Linked DNA regions of Homo sapiens: all the other regions are linked to region 6. The links are contacts of gene promoters, found by promoter capture Hi-C in blood cells and fetal thymus (Javierre and others, 2016). All regions are on one chromosome and are shown on one strand. The core of a region is centred on a gene start or on the middle of the fragment in contact, and the rest is flanking DNA. Distances in the headings are between cores, read along the strand shown. Region 1 overlaps CYLD-AS1 (CYLD antisense RNA 1). Region 2 overlaps CYLD (CYLD lysine 63 deubiquitinase). Region 3 overlaps CYLD (CYLD lysine 63 deubiquitinase). Region 4 has its middle 13 kb from the start of LINC02128. Region 5 overlaps NOD2 (nucleotide binding oligomerization domain containing 2). Region 6 holds the start of HEATR3 (HEAT repeat containing 3). Region 7 holds the start of LINC02168 (long intergenic non-protein coding RNA 2168).

What was found. Contacts are between HindIII fragments. The CHiCAGO score rates a contact against its expected background, and 5 or more counts as called.
Region 1: a contact is called between a fragment that was not itself captured here and the fragment with the promoter of HEATR3 in region 6, in 8 of 17 cell types (neutrophils, monocytes, naive CD8 T cells and 5 more). The highest score is 10.8, in neutrophils.
Region 2: a fragment that was not itself captured here is called in contact with the fragment with the promoter of HEATR3 in region 6 in 5 of 17 cell types (naive CD4 T cells, activated CD4 T cells, non-activated CD4 T cells and 2 more); the score reaches 9.5 in naive CD4 T cells.
Region 3: a fragment that was not itself captured here is called in contact with the fragment with the promoter of HEATR3 in region 6 in 8 of 17 cell types (naive CD4 T cells, naive B cells, neutrophils and 5 more); the score reaches 11.0 in naive CD4 T cells.
Region 4: a contact is called between a fragment that was not itself captured here and the fragment with the promoter of HEATR3 in region 6, in 5 of 17 cell types (non-activated CD4 T cells, naive CD4 T cells, total CD8 T cells and 2 more). The highest score is 7.0, in non-activated CD4 T cells.
Region 5: a contact is called between a fragment that was not itself captured here and the fragment with the promoter of HEATR3 in region 6, in 8 of 17 cell types (neutrophils, naive CD4 T cells, naive B cells and 5 more). The highest score is 16.4, in neutrophils.
Region 7: a fragment that was not itself captured here is called in contact with the fragment with the promoter of HEATR3 in region 6 in 9 of 17 cell types (naive CD4 T cells, total CD4 T cells, naive B cells and 6 more); the score reaches 11.8 in naive CD4 T cells.

What each region holds. Positions count from the first base shown.
Region 1 is chr16:50,737,467-50,740,279 of GRCh38, forward strand. The region is part of intron 3 of CYLD-AS1 (CYLD antisense RNA 1); the gene reads right to left. Among named protein-coding and RNA genes, the nearest start is that of CYLD, 3.2 kb to the right of the region's middle. The HindIII fragment of the contact is 5,372 bases long and covers 1-2,813 here.
Region 2 is chr16:50,780,800-50,783,900 of GRCh38, forward strand. CYLD (CYLD lysine 63 deubiquitinase) reads left to right here. Exons shown (of 19, transcript NM_001378743.1): 10 at 447-612; 11 at 1,526-1,667. CYLD-AS2 (CYLD antisense RNA 2) reads right to left here. Exons shown (of 3, transcript NR_187251.1): 3 at 3,060-3,101. Among named protein-coding and RNA genes, the nearest start is that of CYLD-AS2, 21 kb to the right of the region's middle. The HindIII fragment of the contact is 1,122 bases long and covers 731-1,852 here.
Region 3 is chr16:50,758,775-50,761,570 of GRCh38, forward strand. The region is part of intron 5 of CYLD (CYLD lysine 63 deubiquitinase); the gene reads left to right. Among named protein-coding and RNA genes, the nearest start is that of CYLD-AS1, 17 kb to the left of the region's middle. The HindIII fragment of the contact is 8,236 bases long and covers 1-2,796 here.
Region 4 is chr16:50,825,787-50,828,897 of GRCh38, forward strand. No RefSeq gene overlaps it. Among named protein-coding and RNA genes, the nearest start is that of LINC02128, 13 kb to the right of the region's middle. The HindIII fragment of the contact is 4,535 bases long and covers 1-3,111 here.
Region 5 is chr16:50,719,929-50,722,868 of GRCh38, forward strand. It overlaps NOD2 (nucleotide binding oligomerization domain containing 2), which reads left to right. Exons shown (of 12, transcript NM_001370466.1): 7 at 1-80; 8 at 2,694-2,777. Among named protein-coding and RNA genes, the nearest start is that of CYLD, 21 kb to the right of the region's middle. The HindIII fragment of the contact is 2,305 bases long and covers 476-2,780 here.
Region 6 is chr16:50,064,277-50,067,337 of GRCh38, forward strand. It overlaps HEATR3 (HEAT repeat containing 3), which reads left to right and starts at 1,694. Exons shown (of 15, transcript NM_182922.4): 1 at 1,694-1,993; 2 at 2,091-2,263. The coding sequence starts at 1,856. It overlaps HEATR3-AS1 (HEATR3 antisense RNA 1), which reads right to left and starts at 2,048. Exons shown (of 3, transcript NR_186390.1): 1 at 1,777-2,048; 2 at 415-531. RefSeq lists an enhancer at 1,502-1,796 and silencers at 1,647-1,696, 2,027-2,076, 2,157-2,416. The HindIII fragment of the contact is 22,013 bases long and covers 1-3,061 here.
Region 7 is chr16:50,805,654-50,808,748 of GRCh38, forward strand. LINC02168 (long intergenic non-protein coding RNA 2168) reads left to right here and starts at 1,019. Exons shown (of 2, transcript NR_146573.1): 1 at 1,019-1,154; 2 at 1,765-1,976. The HindIII fragment of the contact is 6,211 bases long and covers 1-3,095 here.

The sequences.
Region 1 (2,813 bases), core at 214-2,713, 670 kb after region 6:
CTTCCCTGAACAATCTACCTAAATAGCAGTTTCCAGCCACTGCCTGCCTTCCTTTGTATTGTCTTCTCTGCATGAACTACCTGATGCATGGTCATTTTTCCCCTCCCCTAGAATGTCAGCTTCTTGAGAACAGGAACCACGCTCACTGCAGTGTCCTCAGAGTCTACAAAGGTGCCTAGCACATAGTAGGTGCTCAATACATATTTGTTGAATGAAGGAAGGATCCACTTTCTTTATTAAAGGGGGCAGAAAATAGAAGTTGGGGCAGCTTATAAGAATGAGTCACCCTTTTTCTGACATCATTTGTGTCTCCTTGGTAAAGGAGGAAGATTCCCTGGGACATGGAACAATCCCTAATGCATCAACTGCCCAAAATGGGATCCAGATGTAGCAGAAAGTTCCCTTTAATAAAGAGCTTTCTGTGTGTGTTTTAAAAATCAAACATAGAAATTATTTGTCATTGATACCAGCAAATAGCTCAAATGGGAGAGCATGGATTTATAGTTCGGCTGGATTAGTTTAAAGATGATTAAAGTAATCCCCTTTATCTTATCAAAAAGAGCTTTTAGGTGGTCAGAGTAAAAGTCCTCAGACAGAATGTTCAGTTGCACTTGGAATTTCCCTTCCCTAAGAGATAAGCACATCTCAGAGATGGAAGACCTCAGCCCGTTATCCATGGATCAAAACACTGTGCTGGGCTACTGTGGAGAAAGCGCCTGTGACGTATCCTTGCTTGTGCGGATACCTGGTCCAGTTAGCCACTTGGCCTGGTGTTCATTCTGAATGCCCATATTCACAGGATTAGTGGGAAAATGGCTGGAACCATGGGAGGTTGGATGGACATCTGGGAGTTGCCATTTACTAAGATGGGGAGTGCAGAGGGATTGCAGGGGGTGGTGGTGGTGAATATCAGGAGTTCGCTTTTGGCTGTGTTGAGTGGAGATGCTGAGAAGGCAGTAGGATATAAAAGAGACACCAAATTTGGAGAGACTGCAAGTAGGAGGTACCCCGTGGTAGGCACTGGGAAGCATGGAGCAGGGTCTAGTCAATAATCATGACCGGTGCCACTGAGCAGGTTCCCTTGAGTCCTGACGGTGTGTTACTCTATGTCCCATGCCCCTAGCAGGCTACCTGGAGTTCACCGTCCTCCGTGGGGAAAGCTCCATTCAATTCAATAGCTTTATGTTAGGGTCCCGCTGTGTGCAATGAGAGAACTACATAAGACAGCTTAGAATCAGTGTTAGGTCAGGCACAGTGGCTCATGCCTGTAATCCCAGCACTTTGGGAGGCAAAAGCAGGAGGATCACTTGAAGCCAGGAGTTCAAGACCAGCCTGGGCAACATGGTGAGACCCTCATCTCTACTCAAAAGAGAAAAGTTAGCTGGGCATGGTGGTGCGTACCTGTAGTCTCAGCTGCTCAGGAGACTGAGGTGGGAGGATCACTTGAGCCCAGGAGACGGGGGCTGCAGTGAGCTATGATTGTGCCACTGTACTCCAGCCTAGGCAACAGAGTGAGACCCCATCTCAAACAAAAAACAAAAAACAAAAAAAGAACCAGTGTTATGTTCCCTGCAAAACCCTTCACAACTTCCCATTGCTCTTGGGATGGAGAACAACCCCTGTCCTTGGCTCCCAAGGCTCTTTTGTGCCTTCATTGTCTGCGCTCTGCCTCTTCCAGTTTCTTCAACAGGTCATGCACTTTCCTGTTTCCTATTTCTGGAGTGTTCCCCCTCACTCCTGCCTGCCAGTTATCTTTCCCATCTCATCTCAAAGGTGACTTCCTCAAACAGGCCTTCCCTGAGTGGCCAACCTCCCTTTAGGCATGCTCAGAGAGATTCTTCTTCTGAGGCTTACCACAGCCATAATTAAGTAAGTGATCATCTAATGAGTATTTTAGTTTGCCTTTTTTTTTTTTTTTTTTTTTGCCAGAGGGAGTGTGGCATCTCTCTTGTACACTGCTATGTTTCCTGGAACCTGCTCAGTAACACAACCGCTAGTTCCATGAACCCAGGACCAGGCTGGATGGAAGAGGCTGTGGGGTGGTGGATTGAGAGAGGTCATTAGTGAGGGCTGGAGCCCTCTGTGAAGACATGTCTGTAAAGGACTTTGACTAGGTCCTCCATGAAGGGAGGATTTGGAAGGCAGAGATGATGAGCATTTCAGTTGGGGAATCCATTTTAACAGAGGTGGAAAGAGTCTTGGCTTGGAATCAGGGTCTCGGCCCATCTCCTGAGTGACAGGGGCTTGTAATTTACTGTCTTTGGGCCTTCATCTACTACCTGTAAAATGAGAGGCTGGTTCACCAAGGACTGCAAATAATAGCACCATGACACTATCTCCCCATCTTATCCCCTGGCAGATATCTCTCTTCCCGGTGAGCCTGAATATAAGTTCAGAATTAGCTTTAACGCAATGTTCTAAGCAGCCATTCCCAATTGATAGGAAATGATAATTGAGATAAGCCCCATTTGTCAGGCTTGACTTGGATGAAGATCCCTTAGATGAAGTCAGGCCCCGGCACTGATTCAGTGAACGTATGACAGGACAGAGCCTGGGGACGAAAGCCCTATGGAAGTAGAGACCTCAGCAGCACCAAACACCATCAACAGAAAGGACACAAAAATAGGCCGGGCACATTGGCTCATGCCTGTAATCCCAGCACTTTGGGAGGCTGACGCAGGCAGATCACTTGAGGTCAGGAGTTTGAGACCAGCCTGGTCAATATGGTGAAACCTTGTCTCTACTAAAAATACAAAAATTAGCTGGGTGTGGTGGCAGGCACCTGTAATCCCAGCTACTTGGGAGGCTGAGGC
Region 2 (3,101 bases), core at 42-2,541, 720 kb after region 6:
TGAGCCACCACACCTGGCCAATTTAAATATATTTCTTTTTTTTTTTTTCTTGTTTGTTTCCATGCTAGTGAATACTATCTTATGGGGCATGGTGGGGAGGCAAGAATGAGGGTTAAAATAAATAGCCTTCTCCTTCCCTGCCTGTTTTAATGCTTGTAGAAATGGTGCGGGAAAGCCCGTTTAACCAGGGGAGGTTGAAGCATATATTCTGAAAGGAAATACAAGAAGGACTTCATGCTGGATTAAGGAAGTCACTTCTTAAATCAGTAGCTGTGGGCTGAAGCACTGATTACTCAACTCCTTTTTCTTGATGAGGTTCTCAGTACAGGTGCGAAGAGGGAGTGGTGAGAAAGGGTATACTAGAAACAGGTCTTAGAAACCTTAGTTCTTTGTATACTATCTCTGTAAGGCACGGTATAATGCATATTGAAGCATTTCTTTTTCAGGAAGATGAGTGTGCAGGCTGTACGGATGGAACCTTCAGAGGCACTCGGTATTTCACCTGTGCCCTGAAGAAGGCGCTGTTTGTGAAACTGAAGAGCTGCAGGCCTGACTCTAGGTTTGCATCATTGCAGCCGGTTTCCAATCAGATTGAGCGCTGTAACTCTTTAGGTATTTGGATGCTTTTTGTTTACTTAACAACCTGGAATGACTCTAATTCTAATCTCATATCATGTTATATTAGGTGATGGTGACAGTGTTTTAATATATTTCTTGCCAACGCTCATTAAGCTTTAAATCAGTAAAAATGTTGCATGGTGTATAAGAAAGTTGTTTTAAGAGGGGACATCTTAAAAAAGTATTAGGACGTGCGTTTGGGACTTATAAAGTGAATAATAGTGTGGTTTGTTTTTCTCTTCCTGTTGATGACAGACATTTAGTTTTCAGCAATACTAGTGGTAGAAATTGAAATGTAACCTTCTTTTTTTTTTTTACTGACTTCCCTCACAGTGTCTTGTTTACAGCAGTGAGTGTATCTTACAAAGAAATCAGCATTTTAGTGTAAGAAGTAGATTTCAACTGATTGCTGGAGGACAGCTCTCCTCATCATGTGTAATTGGTGGCAGTTTCCTGGTGCTGTTCCTTTCCACTTCTACATAATAGTGGAAAAGCATCTTGGGGCTTCAGCAGGTGCAAACAGGAAAGCCATCTTTATGAAAAACACTCTTATTATGTTGAAATAGTACTTTGGAATTTTCATTTTCTTTTCAAACTTGAAAGTGAAGCAACTTCAGATAAATAGTGAAATATTTGGGAAACATATTTTACTTGACAGATGCTTTTTACACATAATACTCTAAAGTGTGTTTTTAAATCTTGGAGGAAATGAAGTTGAAAATGAACAATAGCAATTTTTATAAGCCAAGTCAAATAGCAGTTAACCAAAGCCTACTTTCCACTTAAAGAAAAAATTTTGCATCAAAATACAAAAACATTTTAAAATGAAAAAATATTTATGGGAATACATATTGTAATAGTTTAAAAGAATTCTTTTCATTTACTTTTTTTAAAAAAATCTTTTCAGCATTTGGAGGCTACTTAAGTGAAGTAGTAGAAGAAAATACTCCACCAAAAATGGAAAAAGAAGGCTTGGAGATAATGATTGGGAAGAAGAAAGGCATCCAGGGTCATTACAATTCTTGTTACTTAGACTCAACCTTATTCTGGTAAGTTTAAAAAGAATGCAATAGGTATAGATAGTGCCATGAGGCAGGGACACATACCGGTGTGTGTGTGTGTGTGCGTGTGAGTGTGTGTGAAAGAAACTGCCATCTGCCTCTGAGTAGAGAAACTGGATGACTGTGGGTCAGGATTGAAAGGGAGATTTGCTTTTTATGACATACTCCTTTTAAGCTTTTGAATGTTGTCTCATGTTTCTGTGTCCAGAAAGGTGAATGATATTGGTACAATGGAATAGATATACAGAGGGTATCTGGGAAATCTTTGTGCATGTCTCAAACAACATAACTTGCAGTAAAGCCATTGGCTGTTATGTGCTGTATTTCTTTTAGTAGGTAAAGGCAGTCATAAAACTACTGTCTTTAAAAAAACGATTTTCAGTAGCAGCACTGCTGCCCTCATATATGCAATTTTTTCCAAAGTGGAACAACTTAAGATTTTTTTTTTTTTTTTTTTTTTTTTTGAGACAGAGTCTCACTCTGTCCCCCAGGCTGGAATGCAGCGGCACAATCTGGGCTCATTGCAACCTCTGCCTCCCAGGTTCAAGCGATTCTCTTGACTCAGCCTCCTGAGTAGCTGGGATTACAGGTGTGAACCACCACTTCTGGCTAACTTTCTTTTTTGTATTTTCAGTAGAGACGGGGGTTTCACCACGTTGGCCAGGCTGGTCTCGAACGTCTCACCTCAAATGATCTACCCGCCTTGGCCTCCCAAAGTGCTTGGGATTACGGGCATGAGCCACCACGCCCAGCCTTAACATTGCAAGGATCTTTAAGCTCTGGAAATTGAACCAAGAATCTTTAGGCTCTGAGGATTGTAGACTGGGCTAAATTGAGAGTAGCCTGCCAGTTCTGTAGCCATATGATAAGAATTAGGAAGTTAATATGGGATGTTAACATTTTTAAAGTAGGAAGAAGAATAAAGTGGCGGCCATTTTATTTGCAGAATACTTTGACAAAAACAAACCTTGTAGCATTGATATAATATTCTTTAGATTTCCTGATAAAAATCTATATTAGCTAAATTTTCTTTTTCTTTGATAACAGCAAGTTACTGCTGTCACTCGTTTATTTTTTTGAGAAGGAGTCTCGCTGTGTCGCCCAGGCTGGAATGCAGTGACGTGATCTCGGCTCACTGGAACCTCCACCTCCCGGGTTCAAGCGATTCTCCTATCTCAGCCTCCCAAGTAGCTGGGACTTCAGGTGCACTCCATCATGCCTGGCTAATTTTTGTATTTTTAGTAGAGACGGGGTTTCACCATATTGGTCAGGCTGGTCTCAAACTCCTGACCTCAGGTGATTCACCCGTCTCGGCCTCCCAAAGTTCTGGGATTGCAGGCATGAGCCACCGCACCTGGCCTGTTAGTCACTCATAAGTGATTTTAGCATTTAAAGAAATTTATTAATGTAATAGATCTTTGC
Region 3 (2,796 bases), core at 158-2,657, 690 kb after region 6:
AACAGGAAGAGCATGCGTCGGGGAGTGGGAGTTGGAAGTCAGGATCTTGGTTTTGATCATGTTAAAATTGAGTTAGCTATTAAACAATTTCATTTGAATGTTTATGTTAATATTATACGAATTCATGTTTAATCCTTAAAAATGGGCAATGTGCTCATCATTTTCATATTTAAGAAACTTTTGGCTGGGTGCAGTGGCTTATTCCTGTAATCTCAGCACTTTAGGAAGCCGAAGTGGGCAGATCACGTGAGGTCAGGAGTTCGAGACCAGCTTGGCCAACATGGCGAACCCCCCCGTCTCTACTAAAAATACAAAAATTAGCCAGGCGTGGTGGCGGTCACCTGTAGTCCCAGCTACTCAGGAGGCTGAGGCCAGGAGAATCGCTTGAACCTGGGAGGTGGAGGTTGCAGTGAGCTGAGATTGTGCCATTGCACTCCAACCTGGGTGACAGAGCGAGACTCCATCTCAAAAAAGAAACTTTTTACTGTAGAATGTATTTGCAAAAGTATATATAACAACATATATTAAGAATAATAATGAACACTCATGAAACTGACCATCTAGGTTAAGAAACAGAACATTAGAAGTACCTTGAAAACCACCTGCAATACCTTGTTTTCATTATAATTGCAATCTCTCCCTAGAGGTGACCATTATTCTGATTTTTTCATTAATTATTTCCTTGCTTTTTATAATTTAATTATATCTCTGTAGCTAAACAATATACTGTTTAGCCTGCTTTTGAACTTAATGTAGTTAAAATCTTACTGATTTTTAAATTACTTGCATCATTTACTTAAAATGTATTTTGAGATTCTTTTCTGTGGATGAGGGCATTAGTAGTTTGTTCACTCTCACTGCTTCATAGTATATTTCGTCATGTGACTATCCCACAGTTTGGTGCCCATTGTAATATTAATGGACGCTTGGGTTTTAGGTTGTTTCCACCTCCTTTTCCACACTTGGTACTGATTAAAATTTTTGCCAGCCTGACAGCTGAGAAATGGTATCTCAAGGTGGTTTAAAAGTTTGTAGTTCCCTGATTACAAGTAGGATTGAACAGCCTTTTATATGTTTATACAACATTTGTGTCTTCTATTAAACACGTATTTTTTGCCTGTTTTTCTGTTGAGTTGCTCATTTATTGATTCATGAGTTCTCTAGTTTTAGAATTTTAATAAAACATCTTTTAATGTTTTGTTATGACATTTTAAACAGAAAAACTGAAAATTTTATATTGAGCATCCTTATGCATATCATCTAGATCCTACAATCAACATCTTACTTGCTTTATATGTATCTGTCCACCTCTCTATTCACGTACTTATCCGTCACGTTTTCTTGTGCATTTCACATTAAGTTGCAGATACCAGTTCACTTCCTCCTAAATACTTCAGTGTGCATCTAATTAACTAGAGATAAGTATTTAGGGTTTTCTTTTTCATTTCAGATAGAAGTCACACATATAATGACATACATATGGATTTATTTGGGTTCTAACTAATATATATATACCCTTGAATTAGAAACCTCTATCAAGTTATTAAAACAATTTTAAGAAGAAATCATTCATGTATCTCAAATCAAAATTAAAAAGTACAATAAAATATCTCATTTCCATTTTTATCCCCTCTGCCTCAGTTGCCTGCTTACTCCATCCTTCGTTTCTCACTAGTCACAGTTTTTATGAATTTCTTATATATCTTTCCAGTGTTTCTTTATACAATATAAATATTCTTATTCCCCCTTCCCTTTTAATTCAAGAAGTGTAGTAGATACACTATTCTGCTGTTTGCTTTATTCTCTTAATTTTATATGTTAGAACTCTTTGTATATTTGCAAACAGAGGTTCTTGTTTTTTATAGTGTATAATTTTCCATTGTACGGAAAAAAATTTCATAATTTATTTAACCAGTTTCCTATCAATGGACATTTGGGTTGTTTCTGACTTTTTGATATTGCACACAATGTTACCGTAACCTGTACATGTCTGTTTCCCACATGTGCTAGCATATCTGGAGGATATATATATTCCCAGAAGTGGAGTTGCTTGATGAAAGGGCGTATGCGTTGGTATTGTTCTGGATATTGTTAATTGCCTTCAGTCGTAGATATAACAATTTATATTCCTGCCAGTAGAATACAAGGGGGAACTTATAGCTTTCCCATGAGAGTGTGTTACTAACTTTTTTCCCAATCTGATAGATAAAAAATATATTTCAGTGTATATAATACATTTGCAAATAGAAATTTGCATTTCTCTGAGTGATGTTGAACATTTTTGCATATGATTAAGGGCAATTTTTCTTTCTGTGAACTGTTTGCATCTGTTGCCTATTTTTAAATTGGGTTAGGTTATTGGCCTTTTTTCTCACTGATTTCTTCATGTGTTAGGGTGGCAAACTCTTCTGTGATGCGAGATGCAAATGTTGCCCACTCTTCCACCCTCATTTGTCATTTGTCTTTTTTTAAAATTGCTTATTTTTCTGGTCACCCTCATTTGTTTTTATTGTGGTAAAATATACCTAACAGGATGTACCATTTTAACAATTTTTAAGTGTATAATTCAGTGTAAGTATGTTTACAGTTGTGCAACCATCACCACTATCTATTTCCAGAAATCTTGTTCATTATCCCAAATAGAAACTCTATACTCATGAAGAGATAGCTGCCGGTTCCTCTTTCCCTCCAGCCTCTGCTCATCTCTGTTCTCTGCTCTCTGTCCTTATGACTTTGCTTACTCTGGGTATCTCATATTAGTGGAATCATACATATGTCCTTTGGAGCTGGTGCATT
Region 4 (3,111 bases), core at 216-2,715, 760 kb after region 6:
CTTGGTGTAGTATCTGTTCATATTTTTGCCCAATTTTTAAATCGAATTCTTTGTCTTCTTGTGTTGTAAAGAGTTCTATATATTATTCTAGATACAAGCCCTCTCTTTATCCAGTGTTTCTAAATATGTTTTAAAATATTGCCCCTCAAGAGCCTTTTTAGACATTTTTTCCTAACGTCTCCCCCCATCCACTATGAAATGTAAATAACAGCCATATCATATATCTATTTATATACCATGATCCTTTGCAGGCTCACATATCATTATAATATCTAAAATTTTTAGCCACCAAGAACAAATTTTTGCCCCCTCAATGATATCACCTCCATTGAGAATGCATACAGTTATCAGATATGTGTTTTGCAAACATTTGTTCTCAATTTGTGACTTGTTTTTTTCATTTTTCTTAATATCTTTCGAAGAGCAGAGTTTTACATTTTTATGAAGTCCAATTTATCATTTTTTTATGACTTAAGCGTGTTGTTTTCTATCTAGGAATTATTGGTCAAAACCCAGGTCATGTATATTTTCTCCTAGAAGTTTTAAATCTTTAGCTCTTACATTTAAGTGGGTGAACCATTCCAAGTTACTTTTTGTATATGGTGCAACATAAGGGTTAAGTTTCCACTTCTTTTGAAATGAATGCCCCATTTTCTAGCACTATTATTGAAAATACAATATTTCCTCATTCAGTTACCTTGGTACTTTGTCAAAAATAAATTGACCATGGAGGTGTAGGTCTATTTCTGGACTCTTCATTCCATTCCATTGATCTATATGACTTTCATTATGCAAACACTACACCATCTCATCTGCAATTAGATAGCATTAATCCTCTAGCTTTGCTGTTCTTTTTTGAAATTGTTTTGGCTGTTCTAGGTCATTCATTGTTTTATGTAAATTTAGAATCAGCTTGACAATGTCCACAAAAAGCTAGCTAGAATTTGGACTGGGATTACATTGGATGTACAGAAATATTTGGGAAGTGTATTAGTCAAGGTTTTCCAGAGAAACAGAACCAACAGGATGTGTGTGTGTGTGTATGTGTGTGTGTGTGTGTGTGTGTATAACATATATATATTTATATTTATTATAAGGAATTGGCTCACATGATTATGGAGGCTGGAAATTCCAAATTTGCAGTGTGGTCTGGCAGGCTGAGACCCAGGAGAGCTGTTGGTGCAGATGAGGTCTGGAGGCAGTCTGCTGTAGAATTCCTTCTTGCTAGGGCAGGTCGAACTTTTCGTTCTATTAGGGCTCCAACTGATTGAATGAGATCCACCCCCATGAAGAAATGCAATCCGCTTATCAAAGTCCACCCATTTAAATGCTAATCTCATTCAAAAACATCCTCCAAGTTGACACCTAGAATTAACTATTGCAGGGAGGATTGACATTTTAACAATACTGAGTTTTTTGATCCATGAACCTGGTTTATCTGTATTCATTTTGGTCTTTTATAAAAATTTTTTTTCAGCAATGTTTTATAGTTTTCAGCATATAAATCCTGCATAGATATCATTAGGTTTATCCATAATTATTTCATGCTTTTTGAAGCAACTGTAATTTTTTTAAATTTAAATATTCAACTGTTAATTTCTAGTATACAGAAATGTCATTGATTTTTGTACAGTGATCTTGCAACCTGTGACCATGCTAACTAAACTCACGTAGATTTCTTTAAATATATATGATCATATTGATTATAAATAAAGACAGTTTTATTTCTTCTTTTTGAATATGTTTGTTTTTTATTTCTTTTGCTTTCCTTATTGCACTGGTTAGAACCTTTAGTACGATGTTGAACAGAAGTGGTAAAAATGGGAATTTTTTTCTTTAGTTTTTGTCTTTTTTTAATATTAACCAGGTCCTCACCAGACAGATAATGAGAATTTTTTGAATCTCTGTTATTAGATCTTTTGAGATGATCATTTCATTTTCTTTCCAGCTTATTGATGTGGTGAATTTACACATTTTTGGATGTTAATCCAATCTTGTATTTCTGGGTTAAACCCCACTTAGTCATGATGTAGTATCCTTTCTATATATTTTATTTTATTTTATTTTGCTGAATTTTATTTGCTCATGTTTTAATAAATATTTTTGAGTCTATGTTCATGGGTGACATTGTCTGTAGTTTTCTTGTTGTATCTTTGTCTGGTTTTGATATCAGGGCAATGTCGGCCTCAAAATGAGTTGAAAAGTATTACCTTCTCTTCTGCTTTATAGAAAAGTAGTGTTTCTTCATTGAATGTTTGGTAGATTTCACCAGTGAAACCATCTGAGCCCGAAGTTTTGTTTGTGAGAAGGTTTTAAACAATGAATCAAATTTCTTTAAAAGTTATATGAAAAGCTATTTCTTGTCAGATAAGCCCTGGTAGTTTGTGTCTTTTAAGGCTTTTTTCCATTTCATCTAAATTGTCAAATTTGTTGGTAAAGTCACCCTTAATATTACCTCTTTAACATTCTGATTTCCATAGGGTCTATCGTTGTGTACCTGCTTTCATTCCTAATATTGGCAATTTGTGTTTTCTGTCTTCTTTCTTGATCACTGTCTAAAGGTTTGTTGATTTTATTGACCTTTTCAAAGAACTAGGTTTTTGCTTTATTGATTTTTCCTATTTTCTCATGTTTTATCTTACTGATTTCTGTCCTAATTTTTATTTACTTTCTTCCATTTTGGTTTAATTTTCTCTCCTTTTTTTTCTTTCTTTCTTTTCCTTCCTTCCTTCCTCCCTTCCTTCCTTCCTTCCTTCCTTCCCTCCCTCCTTCCTTCCTTCCCTCCCTCCTTCCCTCCCTTCCTTCCTTCCTTCTTCTCTTCTCTTTCTTTTCTTCTTCTTCTTCTTTTTTTTTTTTGACAGAGTTTTGCTCTGTCACCCAGGCTGGAGCACAGTGGTGTGATATCAGCTCACTGCAACCTCCACTTCCTGGGTTCAAGCAATTTTCCTGCCCCAGCCTCCTGAGTAGCTGGGATTACACGTGCGTGTCACCATGCCTGGCTAATTTTTGTATTTTTAGTAGAGACGGGTTTCACCACATTGGCCAGGCTGGTCTCAAACTCCTGACCTCGTGATCCACCCATCTCAGCCTCCCAAAGTGTTGGGACTACAG
Region 5 (2,940 bases), core at 378-2,877, 660 kb after region 6:
GGGAATAACTACATCACTGCCGCGGGAGCCCAAGTGCTGGCCGAGGGGCTCCGAGGCAACACCTCCTTGCAGTTCCTGGGGTAGGTTGGATTCCAGGAAGAGGGACCTGCATGGAGGGGCTTGGGACTTTTGAGGATTTAGGGGCAGGTGAAACTCTTCAGCCAGGAGGCCCCAGAGGCAGCCCAGCTCCAGTGGGGAGGACAAGCCAGGGAGAGAGTGGGCGGCCCTTGACTGCCACCTTCATACTTGGTCTATGCCTGACAAACAGGAAGTTTGGGATGTTGGGGCTAGGGGAGGACAGTGCCCACGAGCTGGTGACAGGAAGCCCTCTGATCCTCAGGGGGCGCTAGGGCTGTACTTTAGCTGCATATTAAAACCACCTGGAAGCTTCTAAACACTATTGCCAGGCCTCCCACCCCAGACTGATGAAATGCAAATATCTAGGTGCAAGGCCCAGGTATCAGGAGTTTTAAAAAGCTTCCCAGGGGATGTACAGCCAGGGGTGAGGACCCCTGACCTAAGAAAGAGAAGGAAATGGGGAAGGATAGGAAGGCACCCAGGATAAGAGGGGCTGTGCTAGGTCCCTCGGAGCTCTTGCTCCCTGTAGGACCATGCTAGGGCCTGCCAGGGAGGGGAGTACCCCAACCTGCAGCCCCAGGGTGGGCTTCCTCTGTTTGCTAGGCACCCAGGCTTGCACCTGTGCTGTTTCCAGCAGCCTCTCTCCTATCCTGTCATGCCCTAGTGTGAACTGGAGTCCATTTGACAAGAACTGGGAGTTTTAGAACCTGGGACTGTAGGAAGAGAGAATAACCTTAGGGCCTAGGTGTTCCAGCCCATTTCACAGGGAGGCAAGTTGCCCCCAAGCTCAGTTTTTTGTTTTGTTTTGTTTTGTTTGAGATGTAGTCTCACTCTGTTGCCCAGGCTAGAGTGCAGTGGCACGATCTTGGCTCACTGCAACCTCCGCCTCCTTGGTTCAAGCGATTCACCTGCCTCAGCTTCTCAAGTAGCTGGGATTATAGGCACCCACCACCACGCCCAGCTAATTTTTGTATTTTTAGTAGAGACAGGGTTTCACCATGTTGGCCCGGCTGGTCTTGAACTCCTGATCTCAGATGATCCGCCCGCCTCGGCCTCCCAAAGTGCTGGGATTACAGGTGTGAGCCACCGCACCCGGCCCCCAAGCTCAGTTTGAGCCACAAATGGGACTATGTTGCTCTAGAAATCAACATCTTTTCCACACTGCATTAGTAGCAACAGAGTCTAGAACAAAGGAGGCCACAGCCCCACTGAACTCTCTTCTGCTTGAGGTCACATCTGCCACATCAGGGGTATTTACCTCTTTCAACACATATTTATTAGGGCACCTGTCTGGGCCAGGCGTTGTGCTAAAACCCCCAAACGCTGTCATATGATACAAAGTGTTCTGTAACTTGCTTGGTTTTTTTTTTTGTTTGTTTGTTTGTTTTGTTTTGTTTTTGTTGTTGTTTTTTTTTGCTTCGCCATATATTATAGGAATTTTTTTAGGTCATTATGACCTCTTTATTTACTTAATTATCTATTTATTTATTTTACTAATATTTACAGAAAGGGTCTCACTCTGTCACCCAGGCTGGAGTGCAGTGGTTGCAATCATAGCTCATTGTAGCCTTGAACTCCTGAGCTCAAGTGATCTTCCTACCTCGGCCTCCTGAGTAGCTGGGACTACAGGCACAAGCCACCATGCCTGGCCGATATTTTTATGTTTTGTAGAGACGGGGTCTCACTATGTTGCCCAGGCTGGTCTCAAACTCCTGGGCTCAGGTGATCCTCCCTCCTTTGCCTCCCAAAGTATTGGGATTACACAAGTGAGCCACCTTGCTCAGCCTGACCTCATTTTTCAAAGAGCTGCAGAGTGTTACATAATGTATTTAACTGGTCACTTTTTGATGACTATTAAGTTGTTTTCAGGTTTTTTGTTATTACAGTGTCATATCCCTGGGGCACAGAGCAGTGCTGGCACATAGCCAGAGCTCAATCGATACATACCTAATGAATGAAAGTACAGTGGACATCCTAATTCAGCCATTCTTTGCTAACTTGTGTACATACCTGTCCAGGGTAGGTCCCTAGAATACAGTCAATAAGTCAGAAGGTGTGAGTTGGGATCTACCTTTTGGAAAGGGATGTTTTCAAACTACAGTGAGTCAGAGGAGGATGGCCCAGAAGCTGGGGGAGTTGAAGCTGATGGCGTGAAGGAATTAGGGGTGTTAGGAAGAAGCAGGAGATAAAGAGCTAGCTTGCAGAAGAAGTGTTAGACTTGTTATGGGCAGGTACTGGAGGGTAGCTAAGGACTTGTGGGTGGCAGTTACCAGGAAGCGTATCTGAACTAAGTGTCAGAAAAAGTGTCACAACTGTAAATTACTCTTGTCAGTGAGTTCCTGTCCTTAAGGGTTAGGGCTGGGTAGCCCTCTACTATTCTCTAAGTCTGTAATGTAAAGCCACTGAAAACTCTTGGGTTAAGTTTGGCCATCCCACCCAAAAGATGGAGGCAGGTCCACTTTGCTGGGACCAGGAGCCCCAGTGAGGCCACTCTGGGATTGAGTGGTCCTGCCCCTCTGGCTGGGACTGCAGAGGGAGGAGGACTGTTAGTTCATGTCTAGAACACATATCAGGTACTCACTGACACTGTCTGTTGACTCTTTTGGCCTTTTCAGATTCTGGGGCAACAGAGTGGGTGACGAGGGGGCCCAGGCCCTGGCTGAAGCCTTGGGTGATCACCAGAGCTTGAGGTGGCTCAGGTAAGCTTCAGAGTCTATCCTGCAGTTTTCTTGGGGAGATCAGGTGAAGAGGGAGGAGCTGGGGCCAGTTCTGAAGGTCTTTGAACTTTATTTCTACCCCACAATGTTAGGCAATGGAGTAAGGAAAAAAGACCATTGGATTTCAAGAGAGGACACTCGAGTC
Region 6 (3,061 bases), core at 444-2,943:
AGGCTGGTCTTGAACTCCAGACCTCAGGTGATCTGCTCACCTTGGCTTCCCAAAGTGGTGGGATTACAGGTGTGAGCCACAGTGCCCAGCCCAAGATTGATCTTTGATAGGCCCAAATGCAACATGAGCTACACTTCTGTTACTCTCTAAAATTTGCCATAGTAATTAATTTCCCTTACTGGACAGTCAACTCTTTGACAGTAGGGTTACCATGGAATGGAAATTTTCTCCAGTAGAATGTTGACCTGAGCCTGGGCGTGGTGGCTCATACCTGTAATACTAGCACTTTGGGAGGCTGAGGCAGGCAGATCATTTGAGATCAAGAGTTCGAGACCAGCCTGACCAACGTGGTAAAACCCCGTCTCTCCTAAAAATAATAATAAAAAAAAAATAGCTGGGCATGGTGGCACATACCTGTAATCTCAGCTACTTAGGAGGCTAAGGCAGGAGGACTGCTTGAACTCCAAGGCAGAGGTTACAATAAGCCGAGATCGCACCATTGCACTCCAGCCTGGACAGCAGAGTGAGACTCTGTTTCAAAAACAAAAAGAAAAAAAGAAAATTGACCCAAAGCTATGCATATATTGAGTACTCACTCGTTACATGTCTAATTATAAAGACCACCTAAGATTCTCCTGTACTTTTCCCTCTGCTTAGTATTTACCACAATTATAACCAAAGTTATTCATATAATTATATATTCAACAGATCTCTCCCTGGACTGTAAATTCCATAAGGACAGGGAGAGAGGACAGGAACCAAACTGTCTTGATTACTGCTTTATTCCAATGCCCAGCACTGTACCTAGTACTCAACAAATATCTGCAAAAGAATCTCTTTGTTAAATACGTTTCCAAACATTTACATAGTGCTTAGTATCTGCCAGTCTCTGTTCTTAGCACCTTAAACATATGAACACATTTAGTCTTCGTAACAACTCCATGAGGTATATACTATCGATGTCCCCACTTCACTGATGAGGAAACTAAGGCAGGGAGATTAGGTTCTTAAGCGATTCTGTTTTATCAAATATAGACACACATTCGTTCCAAAACATTAACTAGTCTCTGTCTACGACAGGAGCTATGGGAGGTGCTGGGGACACAAAATAAAATCGTGGTTAATGCTTTTTGAGTACCTGCTATATATCAGGCTTGGTGTTAGGCACTTTACAGAACTTTATGAACTTTACAGAACTTACAATAACCTTGCAAGTTAGGTATTCTTAATCACATTTGATTATTTGTAGCCGGTGTTACTAACTTATTGGTTGCTTGATTGATTGATTGAGACAGGGTCTCGCTCTGTCGCCCAGGATGGAGTGCAGTAGCAGGATCACGGCTCACCTCAGCCTCAAACTCCTGGGGTCAAGTGATCCTCCGGCTTCAACGTCCCAAGTAGCTGGGACTACACACACACGCCACTATGCCCAGATAATTTTTAATTTTTTTGGTGGGGAGGACAGGGAGTGGAGTGTTTTCCTATGTTGCCCAAGATGGTCTCGAACTTCTGGCCTCAAGTGATCCTCTCGCCCGGGTCGGCGTTACTATTCTAGTCCAACCTCCTACTTACCCGGTAAACCCACAAGGCTCCGCCCCTTTGCCGAAGCTGGCCCCGCCTATGCCCTCTTCCACGCCTGCGCGCTCCGTGCGCCAGTTCCCCCCACCCCGCCCCGCCCCAACCCCGACCCGGCAGACGACGCGCCGTGCGCCTGCGCACGGCTTGCCCATGTGTGCTGCAGCCGTCAGCCGGCCCAGCTGAGCAGCAGCAACGGACCTTGTTAACGGCGCGGCAGCCTCCACCGCCTGCTGTTGCCCTCCTCTCTCGGTGGTCTGTCCGCCCAGCGCACGTCACCATGGGCAAGAGCCGGACGAAGCGCTTCAAGCGACCTCAGTTCTCCCCTACGGGCGACTGTCAGGCCGAGGCGGCTGCGGCGGCGAATGGGACCGGAGGCGAGGAGGACGACGGGCCGGCGGCGGAGCTGCTGGAAAAGGTGAGGCGAGGGCTCCGTCGGGCCGGGAGGCGAGACGAGGTTGCCCCGCGCGCGTGCGCATTGCGCGCCTTCTGACCCTTTTCGCTCTCATCCGCAGCTCCAGCACCCGAGCGCCGAGGTCCGCGAGTGCGCCTGCGCAGGGCTGGCCCGGCTGGTGCAGCAGCGGCCGGCACTCCCGGGCCTGGCGCGACGAGACGCCGTGCGCCGCCTCGGGCCGCTGCTGCTAGACCCCAGCCTGGCCGTCAGGGAGACTGCAGCCGGCGCGCTGAGGTGAGCCAGGAAGGGTGCGGGGCGGTGCCCACCGCTGGCCTCCCCCGCGTCTGGGCTGCGGGCGGTCGCAGCGGTCACCCAGCGCCTTCTGTGTGCCATCAGGCACTGGCCCGGTCTCCCGTTTGCAGAGATTTGAAGCCAGTCTCCAGGCTCCGGAGAAGCCCAGTATCCCCGCATCTCATCTGTCCACCTGGCTGCTTCACCTGCAGCGTCCACCTGCTCAGGCGTCCTGCCCTCACGCCTTGCGCACGTTTTACACTCTCCAAAAGCCCTCCTTAGGGTCCCTTGCTTGGATGAACTCTTCAGTTCATGTGTCAGGAATCGTTCTAGATGCAGGGGACTTTGAGCAGCCAAGACTTTTGAGCGAGATCTGTTGACAGCCAAGATCCCTGTCTTGGCACAAGTCATGTTGATGGGGAGACAGACAGGAAGCTAGTAAAAAGGTAAAACATAATATTAAATAGTGAGAATTGCTGTGGGAAAACGAGATGATGATGAGTTGGGGGTGGGAAGTTTGAATTGGGTGCTCTTGGGCCGGGCGCGGTGGCACACACCTGTAATCCCATTGCTTTGGGAGGCCAAGGAAGGAGGATCACTGGAGGCCAGGAGTCCAAGGCCAACCTGGGCAACATAGCAAGACCCCGTCTGTAGAAAAATTATAAACAATTAGTCGGGCATGGTGGTGGGTGCCTGTAATCCCAGCTACTCAGGAGGCTGAGGTAGGAGAATCGCTTGAGCCCAGGAGTTCGAGGCTGCAGTGAGCTATGATCACACCACTGCACTCCAGCCTGGGTGATA
Region 7 (3,095 bases), core at 106-2,605, 740 kb after region 6:
CTTCTGCCATCATCTCAAACACACCTACAGGCACATATAGACTCCTGTGCGCTTCATTTTCTCCACAGCACTGATCCCCTGGCTGCATGGCTTATCGTGGGCTCCTCAGGACCTCCCCTAGTCCCTTTAATTGTCTTTCCTTACCACCTTGATCAGTGCCTGGCACAAACCTCCCGCCTCAGCCTCCTCAGTAGTTGGGACTGCAGGTGCACACCACCATGCCCAGCTGGCTTTTTACATTTTTGTAGAGAGGGGGCTCTCGCTATGTTGTCCAGGCTGTTTCAGCCTTTTATTCGTGGAAGCCCCACTGTCTATTGTCAGTGTGCTCAGAATTAGATTACTGTCCCCATTTCTTTTGAGAAAGCACAAGACGTCTCAGTCTCTAGTTCCCCAAATAATGCTTCCTCTCAGAAGTGGAGACATCGTAGGACTCCCCTGCTAGGGCTTTGATGAACTTTGAATGAAACCATGCACGGAAAGTGCTTATCACAGTGCCTGGCACTCCGTAGCCCCTGAGTAAACAGCAGCCACCAGTGGCAGCAGCAGCAGCATTAGTACTAATATCGTAAACATGAACTTGAGAGACAGGGTGCAAGTCTAATCAGCAGTTCTCTTTCTGCCTCTCATCTCCCTCCACGATCCTATTTTAAGCCACACTCTTTATCCTTTAGATGGTTTTATGAGATTGAGATTTTTCTCAGGCATCTTGTCCCTGAGTGCAGCAGCGCCATCTTGTGGTCATTACTGGTTATGGCGCTGTCCTAGATCTAAGCTCCCAAACTCCGAGCCGCAGCCAGAACCCAGGCTTGGGAGGCAGCAGGGATTTTGAAAGCCAATGTGGCAGTCGGGCCAACACACCAGATTACACACTACACCCTAAGAGGGTTTAAGTTTCCTCTGCGTCATTTCGGGACAGCTGCTTAGTGTTGACCATTTCTGTTTGTGGCTGTCCTCTCTCATAATGGGCTCTGTCTTGCCCTTTCTCTGCATCTGCTGCTCCCTCTGTCTTGAGCTTTCAGGCACCGTCTACAAACGGGGTTTAAAATGAGCTAGCGCCATCTACTGGGCGAATGCCGTAAGGTCGGTTGTGAGGTCCCGGAATCTGCAAAGGAATGAATGAATTACAAATCTGTGGCTTTATGGGGGGAATGTCGGTACGTAATAGGATTCTGATGTCACCTCCCTTTATTTGCGACCCTTTCTCAGTGTAAGCCTCATATCTACTGTGTTAACTTTAGTACAGGTTACTTTGTCAGGATCCCAATGTGAAAATCAACCACACTGTCTTCAGTGCTTCCCAGAGAGGGGTCTTTGGACCAACCTGCGTCGTAGTCATCCAGGGACATTTAAGAATGCAGGCTCCGGCTGGGCGTGGTGGCTCTCACCTGTAATTCCAGCGCTTTGAGAGGCTGAGGCGGGCAGGGCTTGAGGCCAGGACTTTAAGACCAGCCTGGGCAACACAGCAAGACCTTGTCTCTACAAAAATACAATAATAACAATAAAAATTAGACAGGTGTAATGATGCACTTCTGTAGTCCTAGCTACTTGGGAGGCTGAGGCTTGAGGATCACTTGAGCCCAGGAGTTGGAGGCTGTAGTGAGCTATGATCACACCACTGCACTTCACCCTGGGCGACAGAGCAAGACTCTGTCTCTAAAAAAGAGAATTTGGTCTTGGAGGCCCTGTGCAAAATCTACAGCATCAAGCTCTCAGGGTAGGGCCCTGGAATGTGCATTTTGAACACTTCCCCCTTTTCCCACCAAGAGAATCGGGCACACGCTGAAGTGTGAGAACCACTGCCATTATGGAGAAGAGGCTTCCCGCCCCCTCACCTGCCACTCTAGAAATCCAGAGAAGAGATTCCACTTGGATTAAGACTTGCATAAGTGGGGAGTTGAGTCCAGTCTCTTTCCCCCACTGCAATACCCTGTTGCGGTGACATGTAATAATAATAAAAAGACTTGCATGAACTCCTTTCTGTGCAAATGAGAGCAAGCATCTCTGACAAAACCACAGTGCCCCTGTCGCTCATTTTGTGTGTGGTTTCAGTGATAACAGACCCAAAGTCCTGGGACCAGCATCTGGCACACCATGGGGGCTCAAATGGGTCACTACTGCTGCTGTTACCTGTGTGAGGCCGGCTGGAGGCCTCCTCAGCATTCCTCACCCCCTCCCATCCACCTCTGCTTGGGAGGTGGGGGAAAATGGTTTATACTTTCATATCAAGGCTCGGCCTGCCACCTCGGGCCCTTCTCCCAGAGCAGGGCTCACTTCAAGCAAAGCACACAGCCATGTTGGAAAGATTCCAGTACTGAGGTCACCCCCTTCCTGGGTGGCACCTCTCTGAGCCTCAGTTTTCCCATTCCTAATACAGAGAATTGTATTAGAGTCTGTGCTGTCCCTTCCAGCTCTGACGTTCAGGGTGGCTCAGTGCTTTGGAAGCCCCTTCCCCATGTGGCACTTCCATGGTGTCTGGGTCTGGTGTGTGCAGAGACCCCCCCCCTCAGAATGCTGATTTCTCTTGCTTTGGTTCTTTCTCTGCCTGCTACCCCTAACCCATTTTGCACAAATTGTGAGCCATGTAGGTGCCCGATACACGAGTGCTTGGTTTTCAAAAGCCTTCATATTGTGCATACCTCATCCCCAGCAATTCTGTTGCTGGGAAATTTTTCTAAGGCAATCATGATCGCAGATGTGCCCAAGATTAGCCATCAGACTCCGAGCAGCACTGTTTATAATGCTGGCCAAACCTGAAAAAGTTAAATGTGCAGGACTGTAATAAATTATGGTACAGCTAGACTATACCATAACCATTAACCATGTGCAGTCATTAATGATTCTTCTGGAATGTAATTTTTTTAAGGACATGAGCAAAAATTCACACTATATTAGGTGAAAAAAGTGGATTATTAAAAACTTATGTATGATAATAGATCTAATTTTGTGTATACAAAAATTTGTGGCTGGGCATGATGGTTCATGCCTGTAATCCCAGCACTTTGGGAGGCTGAGGTGGGCGGATCACCTGGGGTCAGGAGTTTGAGACCAGCCTGACCAATATGGTGAAACCCCATCTCTACTAAAAATAAAAAAAT